Linked DNA regions of Homo sapiens: region 1 is linked to region 2. Evidence: promoter capture Hi-C in 16 types of primary human blood cells and fetal thymus (Javierre and others, 2016). All regions are on one chromosome and are shown on one strand. Each heading gives the region's core, a stretch centred on a gene start or on the middle of the fragment in contact. The rest is flanking DNA. Distances are from core to core; before and after follow the strand shown. Region 1 has its middle 13 kb from the start of LINC01298. Region 2 holds the start of DPY19L4 (dpy-19 like 4).

Region 1 (2,700 bases), core at 63-2,562, 510 kb before region 2:
AGTAAATAAATGTCCTCCCCCACAGCTGGGAAGAGCTGCTAATGGCTTCTAGTGGTTCTGTACTCTCAAGGATGTTCTTTTATTAATTTAATTTTTGAAAAGCCAATACATGCATATGGCTCAAAATTCAAACACTATAAAAATTCCCATTCCTGTGCCTGCCTCATTGCATCGGGGCAATTCCCATCCCAACTCTCAGTAACTGTCTTTTATTAGTTTCTTGTGTATCGTTTCAGTGTTTCTTTATACTCATATAACCAAATACAGACATATTTACAGAGAATTCTTAAGTGTTCTCAGAACCATAAGCCAAAGGAATCTTGCTAACAATAGAACTTCAGGCACTTTGTAAATTTTATTGAGCAACAAGTCTTTCCCAGGGCCCCTTTTGTCACACCGTATAAGTGGCTACTTTCTTGTAGTTGGAGTTCCTTGCTCTGAAGAAAATTGGTTCCAACAGGACTTTGTAACAATGTCATCACCCAGAGAGAACCACAATCTGCATCTCATTTCCAGGTATGAAAGGGTGAAGGGGTGGTGTTGGAGAAGTCCTGAGACCCCTCTCTTTATTATTCATTCCTTTGTTGAATACTCCTAGGCACCAGGCATTGAGCCAGGTCCTGGAGACACAAATACAGCCCCTGTGCTCATGGCAGAAGGAAGACAACATAGGTCGAGGAGACTGTTCAGTTGTGACTCACCAGATCCAACTCAGGCAGGTCTATATTTAAAAAGAGAATTGATTGACTCCTGTAGCTGAAATGTACAAGGATAGATTTGACTTTAGGGACAGCTTGATTTAGAGCTTAAATGATGTCACTAGGAGCCATCTGGCTGTGCACCCTCTGGGCTGGTTCAATTCTCAGGCTACTCATGGTGGCCCAGGCAGCTTCAGCCTCACATCACCACTGTAGACCATGGAAGTAAGTCAGGATCTCAAGAATTCAAACCAAAATTCAGGGACCAAGTGTCCTTAGCCCTGATTGGCTTATTTAGATCACCTGCCTATTTCTGAACCAATCACTGAAGCCAAGGGGCATGGATTCTCCTGATTGGTCTAGCCTTGGTCACATGGCCCACTCTTGGCTCCTAGGAGTCGGGTCAACTTTACCCAACGCACACAGGTTGACAGTGGAGGAGGTGTGGTACCTCAAAATAAAACCAGGGTACTATAGCCACACACCAAATAAAGAGAGAGGCTGCCAGGCCACAAAAATAGGTGCTGTCCCCCGCACCCATGTAATTACAAGTGAAGTGAATGTTTCAGAAGGGGAACTGCAAGGTGCCCTGGGAGGCCTGACCTGGGATGAGGCATTGGGAGTTTTCCCTGAGGAAGGAGCGGGCATCACCAAGTGAAGGTTGTTGGTTTATTCTTGGACAAGGTGACTCCAGCTGTCATGGGAAGGCCCAGAGGCAGGAGGAAACAGAGTCCTTCCAAGGAACTTAGAGCTTCACTGTGACTGGAGCTCGGAGAGCAGGGAATGGGGAGTGATGGAGTAATAGAGAGCAGAGGAAGTGACACAGGCGAGGTGGGAAGCCTGGATGCCCTGCGCCTTTCATCCCCACCACCTTTAACCCCAGCCAGGTTCCACTGCCGAGCTCCACACATAACGGGTTCCCCTGTGGGCTGCGTGTTCAGGCCTGTCTTCAGGCACCGTAGCTGGAAGCCAAGTGAAGATCAAATCTGACCAGGCCGTGTCTCTGCGTCTCTGCTTAAAATATGAACGAAGTTCCAGGTTCTCAGCATGGCCATCAATGCCCTGCCCACACTCCAGCCTCCTATCTCCCTGCCTTATCTTCTCCCTGCTCTGCAGGCCCCACGCCCCAAGGCCTCCTAGTGTTGCTCATCACTAAAGCCACAATTACTAAGGACATCCTCGGGAAGAAAGAGGGCTGAGGGGAGCTGGACTCTAGCCACAGGGTGCATGTTTCTTCTTAACAGAGCAGGTGGAAGAAGGCTGGCCAGGGGACGTGGGCCAGGTGTGGACATCAGCTGTGGGCCTGTTCTTAGGACTCGGTCTCAGGCACAGCATCAGGCCTCCTGGCTCATCTCAATGTACTCACAGAGGCCCCCTTGCCACTGGATGCCCATCATGGGAGCTGAGATCAGGGCAAGGGCTTTCACAGGGCAGAGATCACGGGCCAGAGAAGCCTGTGCTCTGTCTCTAGGCTCAGAAATCTGCCAAATGCTGATCCAGACTCAAACTTGGGACTCCTGGGGAAATTTTTCTTGACTTATTTGGAAGGATCCATGAGAAATGCAACTCCAGCAGAGTCACATATATAAGAAGGTGAAAAAAGCAAGACGAGAGGCTCAGAATTACATTTACTACCTAGTACCTCACCTTAGATTCTGGGCAGAACTTTCTCCCACTTCCTCTCTATGGTTTCTGATCTCTTTCTGACTTATTTTTAAGCTGCCCAGTTTACATATGTGGTTTTTTTTGTCTTGTTTCATTTTTTGAGATGGGGTCTCGCTCTGCCGCCCAGGCTGGAGTGCAGTGGTGCAATCTTGGCTTACTGCAACCTCTGCCTCCAGGGTTCAGGTAATTCTCCTGCCTCAGCCTCCCAAGTAGCTGGGATTACAGGCACCCACCACCACGCCCAGCTAGTTTTTGTATTTTTTTAGTAGAGACGGGATTTCACCATGTTGGCCAGGCTGGTCATGAACCCCTGACCTCAAGTGATCCTCCCGCCTTG
Region 2 (2,747 bases), core at 217-2,716:
TAGGGACAGGTCAGCAAGTCACACATCAGTAAACACTTCTTATGCTTAATTTTTAAAAATTGCTTTCCGCTGAATCCTTTAAACTCCTTCCTTGCACTCTTGATTCAGAAAGGCTTGAGTCGGCTGGACCCGTGGCTCACGCCTGTAATCCCAGCACTCTGGGAGGCCGAGGTGGGCGGATCACCTGAGGTCAGAAGTTCAAGACCAGCCTGACCAACATGGAGAAACCCCGTCTCTACTCAAAATATAACATTAACCGGGCGTGATGGCGCATGCCTGTAATCCCAGCTACTAGGGAGGCTGAGGCAGGAGAATCGCTTGAATCCAGGAAGCGGAGGTTGCGGTGAACCGAGATCGCGCCTTTGCACTCTAGACTGGGCAACAAGAACGAAACTCCGTTTCAAAAAAAAAAAAGGCAGGGGGGCTTGAGTCTAAATTAGATCGATTTACTATCACATCCACAGCTCCACTCATAAGGTAAAAAGTTGTGTTTTCCACCAGAATGCAAAAATCTAATTGCTTCTCACTTCCTGAAACTAGTAGGGGTTATCATGAAGTTACTATGCCATGAGTATTCCTTGTATTGTTTATCACTAACCGATAAGTTTCATCTAACTTCCCATTTTTGTCTCATACTTATCATTTTCTATAAATAAAATACTGCTGAATGAATTACTTATCTTAGCATTGATCCTGAAGGCGGCATGGAAACCTTTCTCCAGCTCACCCACTTTGACCCTCAAAGGCCTCCTGGCCTCATCATCTCCCAAAACTATAATAATTAGATGGCTCTGCTCTTTACCATTTTCCCCTGAACCTAAGTGAACTTGGCTTTCTTCAGTTTCTGCGTGTTCGCCCATTCCCAATTAATCTTGCCACGTTTATCCCAAATCCCTGCCTCTTTATCCCCGTGGTGAATGTTCCCTCGCCCCCTGTGCCTCTGGGTTTGTCAATATCCACAGCCCTTTAAAAATCGCATTCCAAATATGCACTGAGTACCTAAACCTGATCTTCGAAACCAAACTGCGCCTCCCACTTCACCAAGAATCTGATCAGGACCCTCCCTCTTTCCCAACCACTCCCGGCACAGCTTTCTCTCTTGCTACGGATTCCCAACTTTCAGCTCCACCTTTGCTTCCCAATTCGGCCGACAAAACTTCGGGCCATTTGCTCCGCTCTCCTGAATTTCTCCGCAGTCCTCTCCTGGGCGCCGCGCTCCTTCCCGCCCTGCCCGCGCGGCCGCCACCGCGACCGCGGCCACCAGCAGCTCCAACCCAGACCTCCAGCGCCCCCGCCCCTCCTTCCCGAGACCACTGGCAGCCGTTGGCGCGCTGGACCCCGCGGCAATCACCTTCTTCCTCCGCCATCGTTTCTGCGAAGGCTAGGGCGCCCTGCGGCTCCCGCGCGGCCCAGACTCTCCCTCCCTCCGCGTCGCCGAACCCCTCGGCCTCCGGGGGCCCGCTCCTGGCCGCCGCGCCCCCACTTCCTGACCCACCCCCCTCCGGTGTCGCCGCCAACCGCGTCCCCGCAGGCGGCCCGGGAACCAGAGTGTTGGGAGAGGGGAGCGGCCGGAGCGTTTCGCTGGGGCGCCGGGGCCTGCGCGGGCAGGAAGGAGACTCCACGCCGGGAGTGCAGCCCACAGCTGTAGCTCCTGGCCGCCGCCTGCCCTGGAAAGCGAGACTGGTGGGTCTCGCTGCAGCCCCGCCCCTCGTCCTACTCTTCCCAAAAAGTGAGGGCATGCTTTCCGCCACTTTTGTGACTCCGCGACTTAGCGAGTCAGAGACGATCATCAGCGACACCTCCCAGGTCCAGCCTCCATTCCCGCCCCATTTTACATGGAGGAAACTCAGATCTAATGTGGTGGAAGTCACAAAGCCGGTCAGAGGCAGAAGTGGAACCCGGTGCTCCAGAACTGCCATCGCTGCCTGCGTTCTCGCTGGGATTTCAGAGTGCAGCAGCAAAACGTTCTCAGTTGGCGCTTTGGTTTCGTAGGCCACTTGACCATTACAAGAAAGAAGCTTGTGCTTGGAACTTGTTTTAAATCACCAAAACTGGTTTAGCAAATATGTTGCATTTCATGATATTCTGGGGGGGGGGGCGGGGAGATAATACAATGGTCTGGGGTAGAGCAGTGTGCAATTAGATATTACAGAGCAATAGGGAATAATTTTAATTTGTTAAACTGTGTTTAACTTTCATTATATCTAGCATTCTTCAACAAACACCGGGATCTTTTCCCCAACAGTACTCAGAAGTAAATTTAGTAAATGAAATATACCCATTTTAGATCGGGAGAAACAGGCACGAGAATTCACTGAAGTCATGGGGTAATTATGGACACCCCATTATTAGCAGGCAGCAAGATTCTCCTAATAGCACCTTTAAGTTAGGATATTTGGGGAGAGGCTATCATTTTTCAGTGATGTGCAGAAACGGTTCCAGGAACTTTTTTTTTTTTTTTTTGAGACAGAGTCTCGCTCTGTCGCCCAGGCTGGAATGCAATGACTCGATCTAGGTTCACTGCAACCTCCGCCTCCCAGGTTAAAGCGATTTTCGTGCCTCGGCCTTCCCAGTAGCTGGGACTACAGGCGCAAGCCACCACTTAATTTTCATATTTTTAGTAGAGATGGGATTTCACCATGTTGGTTGGCCAGGCTAGTCTCCAACTCCTGGCCTCAAGTGATCCGCCCACCTTGGCCCCCCGAAGTGCTGGGTTTACAGGTGCCCACCACCACGCCCGGATAATT

What was found. Contacts are between HindIII fragments. The CHiCAGO score rates a contact against its expected background, and 5 or more counts as called.
Region 1: a fragment that was not itself captured here is called in contact with the fragment with the promoter of DPY19L4 in region 2 in 1 of 17 cell types (monocytes); the score reaches 6.7 in monocytes.

Annotation. Positions count from the first base shown.
Region 1 is chr8:95,228,126-95,230,825 of GRCh38, reverse strand. No RefSeq gene overlaps it. Among named protein-coding and RNA genes, the nearest start is that of LINC01298, 13 kb to the right of the region's middle. RefSeq lists enhancers at 1,904-2,023, 2,144-2,283. The HindIII fragment of the contact is 3,646 bases long and covers 1-2,700 here.
Region 2 is chr8:94,718,619-94,721,365 of GRCh38, reverse strand. It overlaps DPY19L4 (dpy-19 like 4), which reads right to left and starts at 1,466. Exons shown (of 19, transcript NM_181787.3): 1 at 1,352-1,466. The coding sequence starts at 1,367. RefSeq lists a silencer at 1,339-1,658 and an enhancer at 1,419-2,373. The HindIII fragment of the contact is 11,065 bases long and covers 1-2,020 here.